Regions from separate parts of the Homo sapiens genome. Here all the other regions are linked to region 3. The links are contacts of gene promoters, found by promoter capture Hi-C in blood cells and fetal thymus (Javierre and others, 2016). All regions are on one chromosome and are shown on one strand. The core of a region is centred on a gene start or on the middle of the fragment in contact, and the rest is flanking DNA. Distances in the headings are between cores, read along the strand shown. Region 1 has its middle 72 kb from the start of SH3GL2. Region 2 overlaps CNTLN (centlein). Region 3 holds the start of CNTLN (centlein).

Region 1 (3,472 bases), core at 453-2,952, 370 kb after region 3:
AACTGTAAGATAATACATTTTATCTAATTTAAGCCACTAAGTTTGTGGTACTTTGTGACTGCAACAATAGAAAACAAATAGAATTTGCCAGAAATCTGTTTAGAAGTTTTACATCTATGTTCATGAGGGATATTGGTCAAAAGATACACAATCAAAGCTGGTTCAATCAGTGTAAACCACCATATTAAGAGGCTAAAAATACCCCACAATCATAAAATTTGATATAGAAAAAGCATGTGACAAAAATTGGCACTCATTTATTTTAAAAAAAACTCAGAAAACTATAAATAGGAACTTCTCAATTTGATAAGACCATCTTTTAAAAGCCTACAGCTAACATTGTATGTAATGATGAAGACCAAACACTTCCCCCTATAATCAGGAAGAAGGCAAAGATTTCAACTCTCACCACTCTCTCTCAACATAACGTGGGAAATTCTAGCCAGCCTAATAAGGCAAGAAAAGGAAATAAAAGGCATCCAGATTGGAAAGGAAAAAGAAAAATAACCACTCAAAACAAAAACAAAAAACTTTACAGAATTAATGAGTCCAGCAAGATCTCAAGATGCAAAATCAACATGGAAAGATTGTGTTTCTATACACTAGTAAGCTAGTAAAAAAATGTGGAAAATGAAATTAAAAATACAATACAATGTACAATTTCCCGAAAAAGAGAAATACTTAGGTATAAAACCTGCAAAACATGCATAGTACTTGTGTATGAAAATTATAAAACACTAGCGAAAGAAATGAAAAAGATCTAATAAATTAGGAGACATAGTAAGACCATGGGTTAGGATACTTATGTTAAAGATGCCAGCTGTCTCCAAATTTATATAGAGATTTAACACAATTCCTACCAACATCACAGCAAGAGATTTAGGAAATAGAGAACATTTTTCTAAAATGTATATGGGAACTCAGAAACTAGAATAGCTTTTAAGTAAAACTAAGAGCATAATAGTGGGAGACATCACTTTACCCAGTTTCAAGGTGTATTAAATAGCTACACTAATCAGGAGTGTGTGGTGCTGGCAGGTAGAGGGCTGGACAAATAAATCAATGAAAAAGAATAGAGAACCAAGAAATACACCTAAGCAAATATGCCCAACTGATTTGAGACAAAGGTTCAAAAGCAATTCAATAGAGGCATAATCACCTTTTTGACAAATGGTCCTGAAGCAGTTGGGCATCTTGGGTTAAAAAAAAAAAAAAATCTTGACCTAAACCTCACACATCACACATTCAGACATAAATTACATCAAAATGGGTCAACATTTAAATGTAAAATGTAGAATATAACATGAGAGAAAATCTTCAGGACCTCAGATTTGGTGAAGAATTTCTAGCCATGACACCAGAAGCATGATGCAAAAAAGAAAAATTGATAAGTTTTACTTCATCAAAATTAAAAACTTTCACCCTGGGAATAGACAAGCTACAGACTGGGAGAAAACATTTGCAAATCACTGACAAAGGATTCATATCTAAAATAAACAATTCCCAAAACTCAACAGTAAACAACAACAAGGCAGTCCTCTGTGAGTAACATTTATTTATATCCTGGGAAATTATGAAATAAGCTTGGGGCTATGGCTGCTATAAGTGAAAGTTGTCATGTTTATGTGTGTTTCAGAATATGGGACAGCGGAAAGAGTGAATTTCATTCTTCAACGCTAGCCCTTACTCATCTACTGACAGCTTTGCCTATTTTAATTTCTTCTCCATATTATGCAGGATTCTTCCCAGTAGCAAAAATGACCTTTGGATTTAGAGGGTCGAAAGTGAAAATTACTATAATAAATTTGTAGCCACAACAAGAGAAGCTTACTTAATGTTCTCAAATAACTGTAAAAACAACAAAATGTACCAGAAAACATTTGAGAGAGCCTTTTATTGGCCTATGTTCAGAAGAGTTCATGAGATACATGGGCAGAAGAGTTGCTATTTTTTTCCTCTTAAAAAATTTTTAATTGATACATAATTTTACATACGTATGGGGTAAAATAGAATGTTTCAATGCATGCGTACATTGGGTAATAATTAAATCAGGGTAATTATATCTGTCACCTCAAACATTTATTACTTATTTGTCTTAAGAACATTCAAAATCCTGTCTTTATTTTATTTTAGATTCAGTGGGTACGTGTGTAGGTTTGCTAAATGAATACATTGCATGATTCTGAGCTTTGAGTTTCTAATAATCTCATCACCCAAGTAGCAAACAGTACCTGATACATAGTTTTTCAACCCTCTCTCCCTCCTTTTCCCCACTTTTGGAATCCCCAGTGCTTATTGTTTCCATCTTTGTATTTGTGTGTACCCAATGTTTATCTCCCACTTTTAAATGAGAACATGAGGTATTTTGTTTTCTGTTTCTGTATTAATTTGCTTAGGTCAATGACTTCTAGCTCCATTTCCACTGTTGCACAGGCTATGCTTTTGTTCTTTTTTATGGCTGCATAGTATTCCATGGTGTATATATCTTCCACATTTTCTTTATCCAATCCACCATTGATAGGCACTTGGGTTGATTCCATATCCTTGCTATTGTGAAGAATGCTGCTATGAACATACAAAAGTAGATATCATTTTAATAGAATGATTTACTTTCCTTTGCATATATAACTACTAATTGGGTTACTGGGTCAAATAGTAATTCGGTTTTTAGTTCGAAGAGTTGCTATTTCTAATTCCTACATTTCCATGCACGTAACTGCCTTTGGTATTAACACAAATTTATATAAGTGGCTTAATATAATGGATAAAAATGACTTTTTTGTTGCCTGTGACATGAAATCTTTCATCAAAAAGATGATTTTTTAAAAAAGCTTCGACTTTTAATTTTTAAATACACAGACATATTTGATCAGAAATTTTTTTCTGCTCACCAAGGAATGGTAGACACTACAAACACTTCTGCGCATAGTCCAATCCTCAGTTTCCTTCTTTCTTCAGCAGACACAGTCTACAAAACCAGAGTTTTGACATCAGCTCCTTCCAACACTTTTTGCCACATTCAACTTTCCTTTCACCTAGGAAATGATCATTAGGGATAATTTAAAAGAAGGTGGTGCCCCTGCCTTCTGTACTCTTACATTTTGTGTTAGAGAAAATGTTGCTCTTTGTTAATGCTGACCCTAGCGTGAAGGCCTCAGAGTCACCCAGAGAGAAGTATTAGAGACTTCCCTGGGTTCATGCTCCACCCTGTAGGTCAGAATTGTTTTAGCATACAACCCTCTGTGTTCTTCCTTAGTGCACTAACCGTGACACTCTCCTCATGAATTCAGTGATGGACCCAAGGCAGAAAAAGAAAAGCATAGTCAAGACATTTTTATTTTCCAGATTTTTCTTTATTTTTATATGACATTTTATTTCAAGATAATTTAACATTCACAAGAAGTTGCAAAAATAGTAAGCAGAGTTTTTGAATACACTTCACCCAGATTCCCTGAATGGTAACATCTTACAT
Region 2 (3,878 bases), core at 936-3,435, 350 kb after region 3:
CTACTGTTGCCTAGAAATTTTAAAACACACAGATTTAGCACAGTGTCTCATGTGAGTATGCCTGTGTGCATGTATGTGTTTACATGTACATGATGCTAACACATGTACATATTCTGGAACACAGAGCCACCATGTTTTTTGAGACCAAGTAATCTCTAAAATGATGCACTCTCTGGGCTAACAAATTAGCAAAAAAAGCCCTCTTTGAATGAGCAAATCAGAAAGGTTGTCCTCTTTGAATATGTGAATTAGAAAAGGATCTCTCTTGATAGCCCCAAAGACTAGATGGTGCATGTCTGTGAATAAGTGACACCTCTGCCTCTGGGCAGGTGGAATCTGAAGACAAGAGTACACAGCACTGTAATATGCATGTCACACAATCTTAAATCAAGTCCCTCCTGAAAGAATAAGAGATATAAACACACTGTTCTAAGAGGGATAGGTACATTTTGATATATTTACTAGATTTCATTATAGACCAGAGCTTATTTAGACTGATCCTGTCATCTTCCAGAGGTCCAAGGATTTGCCCAAGCAGAGCCCAGATCACCTGATTTATGTTCTTTACACTATATCGAACTGTAGTAAATTCACATCAGAAACTGTGATAGCCTATCTGAAGTGCCTAGCATGATGCCTGCCATACAGTAAATTTCAACAAATAATAGTTTCTCACGCCCTTCCCTTCTTGGAAAGTCAGTTTTTTTTTTCGTAAACTGAAATTACAATTTCAAGTGAATCATCAACTGTACGTGTGAATACATTTCAATTCCAGAAATATTCTGTCATGATAATTGATGGGTTGAAAATACTTTGTGACCTATAGCACTTTAAGTTGGAGTGTCCCTGGCCTATCAGTAGATTATTGGATAGTTTGAATCAACAAGCATTTAAATATACCGGAGTCATGCCATGTTCTATTCTGTTTGTAATGAACAATTACTCCTTAGTTATCTGCTGACAAGTCAGATTTTGGAATATTAGGTTTTGTATTATCTCATGAGAGTCACCTGTAAATGATTCTTTTATATAACTCCATCTGATTTTTCACTTTAATTGCTTTCACCCCCATATTAGCCCCTACTTTGAGCTCCACTGTGAAGGTAGAAATTAAATATTTCTGAATTACTGTGAAGTATATAAATATAGCTATATCTTCCGTAGTACGTATCGATAAATTAAATTTTAAAGAGCATGGACTTAAATATTTCTACTTTGAGATGACAGACTGTTCTTTGTTGAATCTAATTCTACTGATATTACTCCAGATTTATTCAGTATCTAATAGTATAAACAAGTTCATATAAATTTCGTTAACACCAGTGTTTTTATTTTTTTTCTTCAGGAAATTGAAAAAACAAAAATTGATGCTGAAAATGACAAGGAATGGATGTTGTACATTCAGAAACTTCTTGAAGGACAGGTATTTCATTTTTCTGTTTCATATATTAAGCTTCCAAATAAGAATTCCAAGCCTTACATTTTCACCAGATGTCTAACTTTTTGTAAACACTTCCCCATTGTTTACTTCTGTTAGGTAAAGAAGTATTCCAATAGGTAGAAAGGAAAGTTAACCCTCTATTTGTACTTTGGGACTTAACAAATGAAACAAATACCTTGGGATAGAGCCAACATGGGTCTTAGCAAATGCATTAATTAAATTATTGAGTCAACCTCTGTGCTTGCTAGACTGAAAAGGATCCATTCTCCCAGACCTCTTAGGAAAAGAGATTCTTTATTATGTGTCTTTAAAGTTAGTATTTGATATGGACACCTGAGGAGTTCATGGGTTTCAGTGACCTTTTACTATGGACCTGTTTCCAGTCAATTCATGTTTTCCTCACAGCCAGACAGCTGTTTATTACTGTGTCTTCCCGCATTCTCTACAATATTTTCTACTGAGACCTCGAGCAGCTTGTTAGTGGGAAGTAAATATTGATTTGGCATCCTGTCAATGCAGAAAGAATGAAAAAATTTCCACCAGAGGCCCCTCAAACATTTTCCTATCGACATTTTCTGGGCCGAGTGGAAAGCTGCATAGAGGATGACAAGGCCAAGACGAGTTGAAATCCCTGAGGGGTCTGTTGAGACTGCTGCTGTGACCTGTGTGATACTTTTTCTTCCCTTTCAAGTATTTTTTTAATACACATATAGTCTGCTGGGATGCGCCCCTCTTGTAAGTGATCAAGGGCAGTTTATTGGCAGGTGAGAGCCCTGCTTTTCTAGTCATAGCCAGCTTTTGTTTTGACATCACTGACAGCATGTAATGTATTCTAAAACTTTTTCATTATAGTTCTTTCGGCTTAACCTAATTTTTTATTTTTTAAATGGACTGGAATAAATAAAAGCCAAAACATATTTGTCAAAATACCCCAAAAATTGTCCTGTGATTTTTGGAAAGTCATTGTAAATGTTTCTGTGTAAAGATTAAAAATAGAAACTGATATTAAATGCAATTATTTTACATTTATATTAACAAGTATCAGTTTCCGTGCTTTTAGTAAAGTCGAGAATAAATAAATAGTATATCAACAATTCATGTTAGTATCAGTTTGATATATTTTTGAAACATTGTCTGGAATCACTTTAATAACAATAGGTGATTAAAAATCATTTGCTGAAAGTTGTTTAAGTGTAGATGTGCAGGTGCTAGACAAAGCCTTTTACACTGACTACTTGCTTTTGAGAACAGAGGCCATTTCTTAATCATGTGGTACTCCCAGAACCTAGCTCAGTGGCTGACACATCAAAGAATTCAATAATGATTGTAATGAGGTTTTTCTTTTCAACTTGAAAATGATAAAAATAAACTTTTTAATGAATTTTTAAAATGTTCACTTTGTAAATATGGCCTGTATTTATTTGAATTAGAAATTTTATCATAATTATGACTATAAAAATAATAAATCTGTACGTGTAAAGCTTTGTTAAATTTTACTAAAACTGTACTGACACTGGACCTGAGTTTTTTTGGTTAACACGTGGAGAGGTATATACATACATTCTGCATTAGCTGAATGTATGCTTATTCTGTCCAGTGAGTATAAAAAAATTCTGTTGAAAATGGCATCAGACTGCTTAATACTGCAGCTTGATATAGTGCCTTTTTGTGCCACTGAGCCTGGACTCTGGAATATAATTGCCAGGCAGTATTGATTTAATTGCCCAGGTTTATTTGTGGACTCCTAATTATTGACTGGAGGTAAATTTAATGGAGCAGCCTTTATGAACACTGGGAAACCGCTGCTGTTGCTGTTATACGTAATGAACTGCATCATGTGCCTTTAGATCATTTTTCAAGCTAATTTTATTCCACTGTGACAGTATGATAACATTTAAAAAGTCAAAGACTTTTTATTTTTATTACTGACATAGGTGGTTTTGCTGATGTCTTTGAATTTTGTGAGAGAACAAATAGGTACTTCATTGGTTGCACTTGAATGTCACTTTATAATTACACCCAAGAGAAAAATCTATAAAATAGAAAACACCTTTTTTTTTTAGCCTACTTTTCTTCTCTCTCAATCCAAGCAATTATATTTGTCCTGAATTTTAGAAAAGGTTTTCTTTGCCCACCAGCCTTTTTTTAGAGTCTGAGTTACACTCACAGGATTGTATGGGCAAAAGTGTAAATATGTTCATTCATACATTTTGTTTAGTTTATGGCTTATTGCTCATTGGGTATGAGCTTACATCATCTTCACATTGTGGAATAACTGAAGACATTTTCTAAAAATTACTAATTAGTCCAATGTTGATTTTTTTATTCAAATATTTTGATAAAATTATTGGAAAACCTCTCTTTTATGTCCTCTCTGTGTGTTGGGTGCTGTATGTGATCAAATCCTGAGATTATCAGGGTGAATCTGGCCCTGTGA
Region 3 (3,592 bases), core at 769-3,268:
TCTAGTAGCTGGGATTACGGGAATGCACCACCACTCCCAGCTAATTTTTGTATTTTTAGCAGAGACGGGGTTTCACTATGTTGTCCAGGCTGGTCTCGAACTCCTGGTCTCAAGTGATCCACCAGCCTCGGCCTCCCAAAGTGCTGGGATTGCAGTCGTGAGCTACCACGCCTGGCCTATTTGTAGCCATTTAAAATGCCTACGATGGTAAATTTTATGTTGTGTATTTTGTGTATTTTGCTCCAATAAAGACAAAATTTAAAAAAATGCCTAGTCAAAGAGTCAGGATATTATCCTTTTGGGAGGTCACATATACATATTTATACCACTGCTTTTCAAAAGGATCTTTTTATGATCAGGTGAAATGATGTCCTTTTGAGTGAATGACATACAGCAATTAAAAATGTGCATTAATACTGATTTGGGGCCAAACACGTAACTTATGTGGTTAGACTTCCCAGTCTTAAGTCTAGTGAAATCTCACAGACTATCAAGACCAAATGTTGTATTTCAAGTCACAGGTGTGGAGACAGGGTAGCGATCAAAGTACAGGTTTTCAGAGTTAAGTGGAATTCAGTGAATTCAAAGCCTAGCTTTTCTGATACCAGACATGGCACTTCAGAGAAGTTACAGTAACCTTGCAAGTCTGTTTCCTCACTAGTAAAAATGGAGATATATAATAATCTAATTGAAGGTGACATATGTATTAAGTGAGTTCATATATGAAAAGTGCTTAGCACTGGACTCAGCATATGGTAAATGTTCAGTAGGTTAGCTAGTTCTAAGACAGGCTTATAAACATACTTTTTCTAATGTACTCTTTAATAAGTTTTTGTGAGGAATTCACCTTCAGTTTGAAAGAAGTCCACTTATCTTGGTTGCCTTGGCAGGATTCTAATTGGGAGGGTGTCTTTTGGCATCCTGACTAGATTCTCATGCAGAGATGGTGATATTTTGGTTAAATGAAGTTAACAGTAAAGTGGTCATCTCTCTACTTCTGCTCTCAACCCCCATCTCAGCTTTCCCCAAGTATTCTGGAACCCTTTCTGAAGAAGAGGGCAGTTCTAACTTTCAGGGATGTTCTGGTGCCAGCTCAATATGCATCTCATTAATCTTATCAATAGTAACAAAGTATTTGAAGGGCAAAGAAAGATACGATTACTACCTATTTGAAGTTTATAAAGAAAGCCAGAAGAAAAAGAAAAAAAAGAGAACAAAAGATAAAGTAGGTCTTGTTTCTTCATCCACGCTCCAAATTACTGATTTCAAACTGCTCCAAGGACCCAAACTGTTCAGCAATGTGGGCTACACTTCCTCTGATATCCAGCCAACGCATAAAGAAGCTGACATAAAAACTCAAAGGAAATCATGACTCCTGCAAAACAAAAGACAAAGGGTGTACAAAGGATCATCATTCAAGTTGGAAACCTGCTTGATAGTCCCAGATCAGCACAAGGCTTTCCACATCTCCTTGACATTAGTCAGCTGGATGTCAGCTGTACTAAAGCAGTTTTGCCAAGGGGTGTGAAGAAAACACTTAAGTGTAAAACGTATTCCTTGATCCTCAAGGAGCTTACAACAGGGCTGGGGAGATTAGCCGTGTAACTGACACTCCAGGGCGGTCAATGAAACGTGTCACACGAGTTGGCAGGGGCCTTGAAGGAGAGGGATTTCACAGTTAAGGATCATTTGGGGCTGGGGGCTTGTCAAGGAAGGCTTTAAGAGGTGGGATGTAAGTGGCAGGCAGGGCTTTAGGTGGGCGGGAAATCCAGGCGATCCTGGCCAAGGACTCAGGCACAGGACGCTGGGATGGCCTGCCCGGCGGACCGGCCTTACCCTTTCGGGCCACGGCGCGTGCGTACCCCAAGGCTCGCGCTGGGCGCATTGCCCGCGGGAAGCCGGCCAGGACCAGAGAACACGGGACACCGCGGGCCAAGGCGGGAAAAGCCTCGCGCATGCGCGGTTCGGCGTTCCGGGCTCGCCGGGTTGGGGAAAGGGAGGTGGAGTTTCCAACAGGGAACTTGACCCGTTAGCAGCCGCAGCCATGGCGGCGCGTTCGCCTCCCTCACCGCACCCTTCGCCCCCAGCGCGACAGCTGGGCCCCAGGTCCCCACGTGTTGGGCGGGGAGCTGAAGTACACGCAATGCGCAGCGAGGCCTCGGGTTTTGCCGGCGCAGCGCGGGAGGTGGTCGCGGACGAAAGTGATAAAATCTGGGTGGGTGAAGAAGGGTCAGGGGGCCGGCGAGGGCCTGGGGGGGCAGCTCCGGCTCATGCTCCCCTCCTCAGCGCGCCCATGGGGTCCAGACGGCTAGAGGGCATCTCGGTAGAGGAGGCGATGGTGACCCGGACGCAGCTGCTGGAGGAAGAGCTGAGCAGCCTAAAGGAGGAGTTGGCCCTGTGTCAGGTATCGAGGAGTCTCGCAGTCCCCCTTTCCCCACCACAGCGGGGCCGGGACCCGTGGGGAGGCGCGCCTTTCTCCCTCTGCCTTGGGACCTACCCCGCCCAGCGACGCTCCCTGGCAGATGCACACCCTGCTTCGCTCGCGGCCGGGGGCTGGAGGGACGCGGCTGCGCCCGGCTCCCCAAACCCGGGCCCCTGCCCCTTTCCGAACTGCGGCCAGACAGGCTTCGCCTCCGCGCCCGGGTTTGGTTTTGGTCACTTGGATACTCGCAGTCGCATCCTCTCCGCTTCCCCCCCAAGCCCAAGTTCTTGGTGGTGACGGTAGCTGATACCTGCCGGGGGCCCAGGAGTGACATGCAGTCCACTAGTTGAAATGAACAGGAAAGTGTAAACACTTCGGTTAGAGTAAAATCCATCGATGAAGGAGCCTGTTTTTAAAATTTCAAACCCACACTTGGCTTTGTTTTTACCCAGTCAAACTTAAGTTGTAAACACAGACGAGTAACGTTTAGAAAGTCTCAGAGCCGGGAACTTAACAATAGATGATGCTTGGTACTTGTTTATTAACCAGCTATGGTAATTCCGCGGTCCTTGAGTGAGAAATCACATTTTCATGTGATCTTGCCAGTGAAAAACATTTGCTAAATCAATTGCATTAAAATTACTTTCCTGTTTGTAGAGTTTTTGTAAGGATGGACTTGACTATACTCATGTTCAAAGAGATTGAATTTTCCTTTAGTTTTGCATCCTTACCATCATCTCTTTTGATTTTACCAGAACCTTTAGATAGGGTTGGGAGATTGGATGTGGGAAACTCACTGAACAGTAGATCTTTAAGTCACTCTGTCTTCAACTTAGAAACCAATTAGGAGCTGCTGAACATCAAAGTAACTTTGTGAACAGTATCATCAGTTTAATAAAACAGTTCATGAAATTCATTCTCTGTCGCCCAGGCTGGAGTGCAGTGGTGCAGTCTCAGCTCACTGCAAGCTCCGCCTCCCGGGTTCACGCCATTCTCCAGCCTCAGCCTCCCGAATAGCTGGGACTACAGGTGTCCGCCACCACGCCTGGCTAATTTTTTGTATTTTTAGTAGAGATGGGGTTTCACCGTGTTAGCCAGGACAGTCTCGATCTCCTGACCTCGTGGTCCGCCAGCCTTGGCCTTCCAAAGTGCTGGGATTACAGAAATTCA

Evidence for each region. The method cuts DNA at HindIII sites, captures the fragments that hold promoters and counts their contacts. A CHiCAGO score of 5 or more calls a contact.
Region 1: a contact is called between a fragment that was not itself captured here and the fragment with the promoter of CNTLN in region 3, in 1 of 17 cell types (monocytes). The highest score is 5.5, in monocytes.
Region 2: a fragment that was not itself captured here is called in contact with the fragment with the promoter of CNTLN in region 3 in 5 of 17 cell types (monocytes, erythroblasts, M2 macrophages and 2 more); the score reaches 11.1 in monocytes.

The regions. Positions count from the first base shown.
Region 1 is chr9:17,504,879-17,508,350 of GRCh38, forward strand. It overlaps a transcript of CNTLN not described here. Among named protein-coding and RNA genes, the nearest start is that of SH3GL2, 72 kb to the right of the region's middle. The HindIII fragment of the contact is 243 bases long and covers 1,582-1,824 here.
Region 2 is chr9:17,485,644-17,489,521 of GRCh38, forward strand. It overlaps CNTLN (centlein), which reads left to right. Exons shown (of 26, transcript NM_017738.4): 25 at 1,346-1,423. Among named protein-coding and RNA genes, the nearest start is that of SH3GL2, 91 kb to the right of the region's middle. The HindIII fragment of the contact is 1,469 bases long and covers 1,452-2,920 here.
Region 3 is chr9:17,133,022-17,136,613 of GRCh38, forward strand. It overlaps CNTLN (centlein), which reads left to right and starts at 2,019. Exons shown (of 26, transcript NM_017738.4): 1 at 2,019-2,404. The coding sequence starts at 2,045. RefSeq lists an enhancer at 2,300-2,863. The HindIII fragment of the contact is 13,995 bases long and covers 1-3,592 here.